2 separate regions of the Homo sapiens genome follow, and region 1 is linked to region 2. Evidence: promoter capture Hi-C in human tissues and cell types (Jung and others, 2019). All regions are on one chromosome and are shown on one strand. The core of a region is centred on a gene start or on the middle of the fragment in contact, and the rest is flanking DNA. Distances in the headings are between cores, read along the strand shown.

Evidence for each region. Contacts are between HindIII fragments. The study calls those that stand out against the background at their distance.
Region 1: a contact is called between a fragment that was not itself captured here and the fragment with the promoter of NOVA2 in region 2, in 5 of the 25 tissues and cell types used here (IMR-90 fibroblasts, lymphoblastoid cells, mesenchymal stem cells and 2 more).

What each region holds. Positions count from the first base shown.
Region 1 is chr19:46,114,716-46,120,228 of GRCh38, forward strand. IGFL3 (IGF like family member 3) reads right to left here. Exons shown (of 4, transcript NM_207393.2): 4 at 5,352-5,513. It also overlaps a transcript of IGFL2 not described here. Among named protein-coding and RNA genes, the nearest start is that of IGFL3, 7.2 kb to the right of the region's middle. The HindIII fragment of the contact is 4,320 bases long and covers 1-3,569 here.
Region 2 is chr19:45,971,498-45,977,344 of GRCh38, forward strand. NOVA2 (NOVA alternative splicing regulator 2) reads right to left here and starts at 2,368. Exons shown (of 4, transcript NM_002516.4): 1 at 1,770-2,368. The coding sequence starts at 1,854. RefSeq lists a silencer at 2,534-2,693. The HindIII fragment of the contact is 35,305 bases long and covers 1-5,847 here.

The DNA of each region.
Region 1 (5,513 bases), core at 160-2,659, 140 kb after region 2:
CCTTTGCCTTCTGCCATGATTTTAAATTTCCAGAGACCTTCCCAGCCAAGCGGAACTGTGAGCCAATTAAACCACTTTTCTTTATAAATTACCCAGTCTCAGGCAGCTCTTCATAGCAGTGTGAAAATTGACTAATACAGGTGCTTTTTGAAAATGCAGTTTCCTGGACTCCCCACAGGTTTACAGAATCAGAATCTCTGGGAGTAAGGCCCAGAAATTTGCATTTTCATCCATAGCCCTAGTGGCTCTCATGCATACTAATATTGAGGACCAGTGTCCTAGAATATTTGGTGATTATCTTTCTCTGGCATTTGTATCACACCTATGTTCATCCATAGCCCTAGTGACTCTTGTGCATGCTAATATTGAGGACCAGTGTCCTAGAATATTTGGTGATTATCTTTCTCTGGTTTTCGTATCACAACTATGTTATGTGTATGAAATACCTAACTATCCCCACTTGTGTGTTTCAAAAGGTCCTTTTGCCTACAGGAGCAGGCTAAATCTCATGACATTCCCCACACTCAATCCTCACCCAGAATTCCTGAGCTCTGGGGAAGGTGCCATCTCCAGCCTGGTTTGCAAGCCAGAAACACAGGCTCTCTCTTACAGGGAAAATGAAAATACATTTTAAAAATGTGAATAACCCCCAAAATATCAGGTAAGGCACATAAAACAAAAATAAGGCGGCGTCAGTAGAAAACACAAGACAAAATGAAATGCAGCGAATCACTGGAAATGTTGAGGGAAGTAGCAGTTCTGGGTCAGGGGAGGCAGAAACAGCTACAGCTTGGGAGCTGTGGCCAGTGTGTTCTCTGAGAGGTAGCTATGCAGACCCAAGCTAACAGCCAACCCCAGAAACCTCAGCCTGATTCAGATTCACCTCAGGGTGAATCTGGTGACTCAGCCTGAGTGGGAGCAGTTTCACTACCCGACTCTCTGTGTAATTTAATCTTGTGTTTGCAGCCAATACCTAGCCAATACAGAAAATTAATGTATGGGAGGAGGCCAGCTGCTCTTGACATGGAAAGTTCAGATTATTTTCAAGCTTCAAGAAGGGAACCAGCGACAGGGATAAATGAATGAGTAGAGCCACTTACCAGCAAAAAGCGTTGGAATTTTTTCTATACCACTCCAGCCCCTCATTGCAGGGCTGCTGTAGAGAACTGATGTCCCCAGTTCTGCCCATCTCAGGTATACTCCAGGAGGCTCGCCGGCTGACAGCTTCCTTGCTCTGCCGCCTGTGTGAAGGGGCTGCCACTCTCTGTTCTCAGGTCTTGGTGACTGATGATGGGTCCATTTTTCCTTTTGTTGATGTTATAAGTGGGACTGTTAATTCTATTTTTGGATTGTTCATTTCCCAATCTTTTTTTTTATTATTATACTTTAAGTTCTAGGGTACATGTGCACAACATGCAGGTTTGTTACATATGTATACATGTGCCATGTTGGTGTGCTGCACCCATTAACTCGTAATTTACATTAGGTATATCTCCTCATTTCCCAGTCTTTTAAGACATACCAAATAATTTTCTCTGTGAGTGTGAGCTTACAGAAAAGAGCTCTCGTTGTCTTTCTGGCAGCAACACCGTTGATAATGCATTGCTGGCAATATCTACTTGTGGTTTTCTGTAAAAATGCTGTGAGTTTAAGGACATTTACCTAATAGTCTGACTGGGAAATCCTAGATTTTAGTAATTAAAAAAATACATTGCTTTGCCTCTAGCAAATAAGAACAATGTCTCTTTGCTGATTCAGATATATTGAATCTTTCCAAAGCATTTGCTTTAGTTAAAGCAATTTTTGATTAGTATTATTCTAATTAGAACAATTTTTAAATTTTTACAGATGAGGTTTCACTCTGTTGCACAGGCTAGTCTCGAAATTCTGGCCCCAAGGAATCCTCCTACCTCAGCCTCCTGGGTTGTGGGGATTACATGTGCTTGCTACTGAAGCGGGCCAATTAGTATTTTTTTAATGGACAAGTTATAATTGTGTGCATTTATTTGATACAATGTGATGTTCTAATTCATGTAACGGAGTTCTGGGAAAGTCATACCAACCTACAGTGGTACCTTTGTGGAAAGATTAAATCAAGCTAATTAACATACCCATTACCTTGCTTATTATTTTTAGTTTTAATAGAGCCAGTAAATCTTTTCACACTCGAATTTAACTTATATTAAATTATTTATATTGTACAACTTACACAAGTTAAATTAATTAACTTGTTTATCTTATATTAAATTAGGCAATTATAATAACTAGTAAAAATTTTATATACTGGTTTGGCATAAACTTAATTGATTGGAGTAAAAGTAGGCAAGGATTTGATTCTAAAATGAAGCCTTAAAATCTTGAGCTTTATTTTGACTATTTTTTTCTCATTATGTAAGGTACTTTATTATTTATTTTTAAAATAATTTTAAGCTTTAATTGAGCTAAGCCTATTCAGTAAGTTTTTCAGTATACCTAGAGAATAAAGGTTAATTGAGGCTGCAGTTAGGAAGATTTCTCTCTTTTTAAATTTTTATATTTTGTAGATATTTTGTAGGTATGAGGTGTCACTATGTTGCCCAGGCTGGTCTTGAACTCCTGGCCTCAAGTGATCATTTTACTTCTGCCTCTCAAAGTGCTAGGATTACAGGTGTGAGTCATTGCACCAGGCCAAGAAGAATTCTCTTAAAAGTCAATTTTTTTTTCTGATTGAATTGGTGGTTTCCAGTCCCTTCTTTTTTGTTGTTTTTTGTTTGTTTGTTTGCTTGCTTGCTTGATTTTTTTAGAGACAGAATTTGTGCTGTCACCCAGGCTAAAGTGCAGTGGTATAATCATAGCTCACTGCAGCCTCAAACTCCTGGGCCCAAGGGATCCTCCCACGTCAGCCTCTCAAGTAGCTGGGACTACATGCATGTGCCATCAAGCCTGGCTAATTTTTTTGTATTTTTAGTAGAGACGGGGTTTCACCATGTTGGCCAGGATGGCCTCGATCTCTTGACCTCGTGATCCACCCACCTTAGCCTCCCAAAGTGGTGGGATTACAGGTGTGAGCCACCGCGCCCGGACTACCATCTGTTCATTTTTAAAATGAATCTTGCTTGGGACTACAGGCCCCAGAATGGAGATAGCACTTCTTCCTGCAGGAACCAGGGACCACCTCACTCTCTTGACACTACAGAGCCTGCCTTCCTTAGCCCCTGCTTGTTAGGTGCTCCTAAATGCAACCTTTGTGGCCATACTTAGCATGCAGTGTCCTCCCTCAGGCTGTGAGCATACGTGGGGCTAATAATCTACTGTTGATTTTATCCACCCAGAATTAACGTCCTGTGTTTTGCCATCCCCACAGCCCTAGGGTGGGCATCCTTTTCTTATAAACAAGGTAAACAGGAGGCAATTAAAACAATAAAAAATTTTAAAGAGAAGTTTAGTGTTCATAAATGTCTTTAACATTAAACCACCGATAGTCTAGAGGCAGCCTTTCAAACTTCTATAAATTGGAATAGACTTTGGAGATGAATCATAACGGCTGAATAGATGCAGGTATGTTTGTCTCCCCCACAGAGAAAACCAGAATAGCAAGTAGATACTCACATTTCAAACAAATGGTCTAGGAGAGAATGCTGAGGTTCACCAGAGAAGAGATGGGAAGCACCAGAAGTAAGAAAAGGGTTTGAGGCAGCTTGCCCACCTGGGATTGACTGAGCTGGGAGAGGCTCCTGGAATGTGTGGGGAAGCAGTAAGAGAGAAAGCCCCTGGGCTCCACACTCCTAGACAGGCTTTTATAATCTTGGCTGTGGGAGAAACCCCGGACTCATTAGGGCCTCCGGCCTGACATATGAAGCTGCCCAAAGATGTTGCTCCAGAAAGGGAACCCCCACACACTCCCACAGGCATCTGAACCCTGGGCAGCCTCAGATGGGCACCATTTTGAGAGCCCAGACATCAGGTATCTACAGACAGCTGCTGCCACTTTACTGCTGCAAGGAGGCAGAGGGGAGACCAGGCACTCCCATGCACCCCTGGGAGAGTTACTGCCTCCCTGCTGAAGGCTGAAGTTGAGACTTACACGTGAGCAGACTGCATTCCCCATAGCTTCTTGCCCATGCTGCTTGCCTGCGAGGGACCTCAGCCTCTCTGGTTGCAGGCCCAAGGTGCAGTTTCCATAGTTTAAGTTCAGGCTGTGCCCTGCCCTTGGCCTCAGTTTGAGTTGACATGGCTGCAGCTGTGGCCCGGTTTAGGAGGGACAGGGAGTCCAGACTCCCTTATACATACTCAAGATAATACTCAACACCCTGCTATGGGATGATGCTTTTCTGGGAGGGATCTCTGTTTTGTCTGGTCACAAGCCCACAGCTGGCACCATTTTGAGAGTTTAACACTTGGCTGTGCCCCGCCCTCCAGGTGAGTTTGAGGTGATGAGTTCCACACCCTGCTGGGAGAGGAACAGGGTAGACTAAGCTCTCTTACCAAACAGGGTAGTCCAAGCTCTCCAGGGTACACCACACTTAGGACAGTGACCACTGCAGTACTACAAGTGACTGTGGGACTGGGGACAAGCCTGCCAACTGATCGCATCTTCTTGTAACACCAACATGGAGGGCTTGGGTCCCAGTGAGCTGTTCTACCACTGCTACTGCTATCTCCCATGCCACACCAGCTGCCCAGAGGTCTGAGAACCTGCCCACACACAGGGATCATCGTTCCCACTGCAAGCTTCTAAGCCAGACATCTGGAGGCCCAAGAATCAGCCCCTAGAACCTACTGACTGGAGCCAGGGTATGCTGCTCTGGGGCCTAAAAACAGTCATTCTCATCCCACTGCTGCTACTACTGGGGCCAAAGACTGGCTTAGTTGACGTCCAAGTTCCCAGTTAAACTTTACTACAACCTCAACTAATAGCTGTAGCTTAAGCCACTGAGGAAATCACAGATACCACTGACCCTGAATACTGCCAAAGAAGTCATGCAAAGACCACTCTACTGCAGGTCAATTGGGATAATTTCCCTAACCCCTTCACAAGACTTGTGACAGAGGTGCCTCACTCGCTCAGCCTGTAGTGCTCAATTGCTCACCAGTGGGTGGGGTGGGGTGGGGGTGCAGCTTGCCGGCAAGGGGATGCAGGAGCCCGGGTAGGTGTGTTTTGGGCACTGGCAGGAGCACAACTGTGTACTGGCCCTGCAGCAGCATCTGGGGGATGCCCACAACTCATGAAGCCTCAGAGGGAGTGTTACAGTCAGTGCTCTTTTGGCTCTGCCATCCATGAATGGCTTAGGTGTTGAACAGCTCGGTGTGACAGCCCTCTGTATCCTGAGCTCCTGCTCAGTGTCCAGGAAGAATCAGGTTGCATGAACGAATTGAAGATGGTAAATGTGGGGGATTTTATTGCCGATGAAAGTGGCTCTCAGCGGGAAGGGGAGCTGGAAAGGGGATGAAGCAGGAAGGCATTCTTCCCCTGAAGTCTGGCCATCCCCAGCTGGGCTCCTCTCCAAAGCTATGTCATTGAGCCATCCCTCTGA
Region 2 (5,847 bases), core at 1,118-3,617:
CTTCCCTTTCCTCCAATTTCTGCTGGACACCCTCACAGGCATCCAGGGGGTCCCTGATTCCTGTCCCACCTGGATGGAGGTGGGGGAGGGCTAGGATGGGAGGAAGAAAGTCGGCTTGTATTCATCTGTAGGGAGGAGGTAGGAGGCCCCCACCCCACCCACTGCCAGGCCTGGCGGAGAGGAAAGGGTGCACTCTGCCTGAAGCCATCCCTCTCCCATCCGGAGGAAAAGGCCAGAGGAAGTGGAGATTTTGGCAAGGTGACCGCGGGGAGGGGCTTGTCCGCTGCGGGGTCTCCCTCCTACCAGGGAGCTAGAGGACAGGGCTCTGAGGACCCCAAAAAACCCCACCTCTTCCCTGAGCCCCCCACGGCAGGGCATGCACCTAGAGTTCCCAGCTCGGCTTTTCTTCTCTGGTACACACACCTCCTTGGGTCACACACCCAGGGAGAGCCCCTCTCTTCCCTCACACTGCCTTCCGTGGTGTCAAACATTCGGCAATCTCCAATACACACGGACACACACACAGCCTCCCTTGTCAAACACATGCAGAATCATCCCCATATCTCTGGTGTCACACACTCAGCCATTTCACACACACACCTCTCCTTGTTACACCCATACACACAGCTGGGTGTCATATGCACACGTGCCCTGTCACATGGGGACCCATCCTTCCTTCTCCTTTTTACACACCCTCGTGCGTTTCACCCACAAGCCCCAGCCTCTCCCTCGTCATACACCCACCTTCCCTGTTGCACACACCCCCTCTGATGTCACTGTTGCACACCTCCATGTGTCACACCCAGCCACAGCCTCTCTGGAGTCACACCCACACCCTTTTCTTGTCACATCCCCTCACCAGCCACGCCTGTGTCACACACACTGGACCCCTTTCCTCTGATCTACACGGCCTCTTCTGGCTGACACCCAGAGCCAGCCCATTCGGTGTCCCCCACACACCTCCTTGCATGTCACACACACCCTCTCATGTGTCACACTCTGCCACAGCCCCCTTGGGGGTGACAAGCACACACCTTTCCTTGTCACACGTACCCGCTGGAGGGTCTCAAACATGGAGCCCAGCCCCTGTCCCCTGTCTTTCTCATACACCCCCCTATGCTGTCATATTCCTGATCCCTAATGTCACACATCCAGGCTGTAGAGGGCACACATACACACACACGCACACACATACACACCTGTCCTAGCCTCACATTCTCCCACCTAGCTTTACACACCCACCATTTCCTCCATTTCACCCCACACACCTACCCAGCCTGTCCCCACGCACGATCCGGCCAGGGCCACACAAGCCTCCATCTGGGACAACCCTTGTTCAGGACATCCCCAGGGAGGGAGGCTGGGAAGCTCCCGGTCCACAGGCCTCTACTCCTTCCCCTCCCCCAGCCAGGACACGCGAGCTCGGGGAACACCCCTGCTCCGAAAGGGTCACATCACACACCCCTCAAGGACACACAGACACCTGCCCTGAGGCTCCCACGCCCCCCATCTTCTGCGCCCCCCAAGGACACTTATCACCCCCTCCCCCCCACCCCTCTCCTCGCAGACAAAGCTCCCAGCCCCGGGCCTCAGCGAGAGGAGGAGGGGGTCCAGCCCCCTCCTCAACTCCCCGCTCTGTCCCCCGCCTCGGGGAGGGGTGTCTCTCCCCTCCCCAGAGCCCTTGCACCTGCCACGGGAGGGGGGGAAAGGATGGAGAAAGGCGAGGCCCCCTGCCCGCTCCCCCGCCCCGAGCCGCAGCCCTTTCTCACCTCCCGTGTTGCTGCGCTTGGTGCAGACCACCTCGGGGGGCGTTTCGAGGGGCCTCTTGCGGGAATCCGGGGCCTCGGGCTCCATGGGGGGGGCCTGGGGCGGCGGCTGCTGCTGCTGCGGCGGCTGCGGCGGCGGCGGCGGCGGCTGCTGTGGCGGCGGCGACGGCTGCTGGGGAGGCTGGGGTTGCGGCGGCGGCGGCGGCGGGGGCGGCGGCGGCTGCGGGGCCGCGGAGGCCGTGAAGAGGCCGTGCACCGCGCCGGCGGCCATCATCCTCATGGTGGGGGGGGGCGGGGGGCGGGGGGCGGGGGAGGGGGAGGGGAGGGGAGGTGGGAGGGGGAGGGGGCGGTGGAGGGATGGGGGAGGGGGAGCCCCGGAGAGGGAAGGCGGGGGTAGGGGGGAGCCGGTTCTCGGGGGGCTGACAGAGCCTGGAGAGCGGCCGTGAGCAGGATGGCAGGGCCGAGGGGGGTCTCCGATAGGGCCGGGAAAGAACTGAGAGGTGGGGTCTCTCCTGGGACCACAGAGGCTGGGGACTGGACGCGCCACTGGGGGGACGGGACTCCCCGCTTCTTCTTGGCTCCCTGGGGCAAGAGGGCCGAGCCCCCCAGACCCTGCTCGGGGTGGGGGGCCGGAGGAGCGTGGCCGGAGTGGGAGGCGGAGGCGGCCGCTAGTGGGGGCCCGGGGGGCGGCGGGCGCGGGCGGCGGCGGCGACGGGGCTGGCGGTGGCTGCTGGCCCGAGCATCTTCTTCCCGGAGGCTCCCACAGCGCCTGGCCCCTCCCACCCAACGAGGTCACGCCCATGCCGGGTAGGGCCACGCCCTTCGGCGCCCCCATTGGTCCAGCCTTGAAGCCTGGACCACGTCCCTCTGGGTTGGCCACGCCCCTCCCGGCGGCAGAGAGCTGGACCCGACTCCCCCAGGCTGCTGGGAGGACCCCGGGCTCCTCCAAGCCGTCCCCACTCCTCACCTTGAATGAACGTTTATTGAGCACTTACTGTGTGCCAGGTCCGGTTCCAAGCAAGCACGTCACAGACGTTATCGCATTTACTCCCCAGAGCGACCAGCTCTGTGAGTTACGCTTATTATCCCTATTTTACAGATGAGGAAACAGCCTTAGGAGCTTACTTTGACTTCACTTGGTCAAGACAAGAAATTTCGACTAGGCGCGGTGGTTCATGCCTGTCATCCCAGCACTTTGGGAGGCCGAGGCGGAAGAATCACTTGAGCCCAGGAGTTTGAGACGAGCTGGGCAACAATATTGTGAGACCCCATCTCTACAAAAAAAAAATTTTTTTTTTAATTAGCCAGGCGTGGTAGCACATGCTTGTAGCCCCAGGTACTCTGGAGTCTGAGGTGGGAGGATCTCTTGAGCACAGGAGTTTGAGGCTGCAGTCAGCCATGATCAAGCAACTAGATTCGAGCCTGGGAGACAGAGCAAAACCTTGTCTCAAAAAAAAAAAAAAAAAAGAAAGAAAGAAAGAGAAAGAAATTTCACTTCACTCTTTTTCAATCCTTTCAGCTGGGAAATTCCCCTTCAAATCTTTCATCCATCCTTTGAAGAATCAACACCGTGATGCTGAAAGGGCTCAGAGGATTGAATTCACTGAGCTGGAGTTGCAGCCTGCAGCACCTGCCCTGGGGCACAACTGGCTCTCCATTCAAACAACAGCACTCAGGGCCTACCTACTAAGTGCCAGGCACTGTCCCTGATGCTGCGATACAATAGAGAACAAAACAGCCTTGGCCCTTGTACAGTATTACTACTCATGTCATTAAGAAAAATTTGTTTTCAGATGACAAAGTGGAGGCCTGGGAACATTGAGGGTGGCTTCTTCAAGGGCACACAGCTTGAGAGAGAGAAACTGGGATGAGAACGCAGGACAAGTCCAATTTCAGAGCCCAAAGTCATTGGAACTAGGGTGCCTTTCTTTGGAATGGATCATTGCTATTATTCTGTGTTCCTTGATGCAAGAATTTCCTTCTCCCTGGGTTCTTAACCTCCAAGGAATCTTTCCTTCCTGGGTTGGTCAGAGGCAAGATTAGGCTCAGAAGGGGTCTGGATGCAGGTAATTGTGGCCACTGCGTGATCTGCGGCAGGGGGATCGGCTCCAACCCCCCCCTGCTCCTCCCTTGCCATGCTCTCAGGTCCCCAGGATGGGGGAGGGTAGCAGATGGCCTGGGGTGGATGGGGTGGCTACCCATCTGTCCCCTCCCCCCCATTGTCCCCAGAGCCAAGGGGGATGGGAGGGGGCTGTGGTCCACTGCAGTCTGGATCCTCCCCCTCCATCTTCCTGGAGGGAGCTGAGGAGCTGGTTGCCATGGAGATGGGGAAGAGGCAAGACGGATATAGGGAGATACGGGGGTCAGGCTGAGTACCACACCTTAGACCCTTTGAGTCAAATAGCCTCACACCACACAGGTACATATCCCAACATCCATGAAATTAGCTGTGAAGTTTCCCCCTCTGTGTGACACACACAGAGTCACACTGGCCCTGCTGCAGGTGCACGGTCTCAACACAGTCACACAGACACACTTATAGGGGATAGGCACACGTACACACACATACACACTCATCTGTAATGCACATTCAGTCATGCAGACGCAAGGCCACAACACAGGCTCTCATACACAAATAGACAGACACACATCTAATATGCAGGTATGTCCCAGGTACACACATTCAGAGCCACGACAGCTCCACACTTGGCCCCACACACTCGGAAAAGTTACAAATCCATGATCAAAGCCACAGGACATCCATGGCCTATGTTACATAAGACATATCAGCGACATGTGATGTATAGACTGACGAACAGACTAAGTCTTTCCTTGCACACAAATTGGGTAAACACACACAACACACACATTTAGATACACGGCCCACATAGGCTAACGCACACAATAACTGGACTTCACGGGCCACTCAGTGACACGCACAACACACATGGAAAGCTGTGTGCCGCTCAGCCCCCACCCCCGAGGCATGCCTGCAGCCCCAACCCTGCGCTCCCCCCATCGAGCCCTCCCGTTTGGACACACACAACAGCACGGTCGGTCACGCACTCACACTCACACACAAACACAAACCTCCTGCTAGATATTTTTAAACCCGGGCTAGTTCTGCTGCCATGGCAACCGCCCCAAACCCATCACCATAGCAACCCAACGTCAGCTTTCCAAGCACCAAATCCTGGGGGACTGCAGGGCCCCAATCAGAGGCTGGCGGAGGGGGCTGCTGCACCCTTTGCCATCATCCATGCCACCCTTGTGCCCCCACCCCAGAGCTTTCAGGGGAGCAGTCACCCTAGTCTGGGCAGGGGCCAGAGTCAGGGACATCAGAGACCCCCACCAAGCTGGGGCAGGGGATCCCCGAACCTGCCTTTTCCTTCCAACCTGGCAGAGCTATATGGAGGGGCTCGTTGGAGTGAAGGTCAGCTTACAGAAGCCTGGGTTTGAGTTCTGGCCCTGCCATTTACATGCTGTGTGACTTGGGCATGCCCTTACCCTTTCTGAGTCTCTCATTCTTTAATTTGGAAAATGTTGCTGCTGCTGTTAATACCCCCTTTATTTTTATTTTATTTTTTATTTTTTAATTTTTTGGTATTTTTAGTAGAGACAAGGTTTCACCACGTTGACCAGGTGGGTCTTGAACTCTTGACCTCAGGTGATCTGCCCGCCTCGACCTCCCAAAGTGTTAGGATTACAGGCGTGAGCCACCGTGTCTGGCCAATATCCCCTTTAAATGACTGTTATGATTTGGTGGTTAAAAGCCCAGACAGATCTACATCCAGATTCTGGCTTTCCCACTTCTTAGCCATGTGAACTCAGGCAAGGGCCTTCTCCTCTCTATGACAAGTCTCAGGGGTAAATAGTCCAATTACATAGGGCTGCTGGGAAGATTCCCTAGCAAAGGGGTATGGCAACTGTCCTAAGAACTTTGCATGTATTCTAACTTATCAGTCTTAAACATGGTCTTATGGGTGGATTACTATTCTTATACCCATCTTGCGGAAAAGGAAACTGAGATCCAGAGAGCTTGCCTGGTGTCACATAGCTACAAAGTTTAGAAGGATGGGAT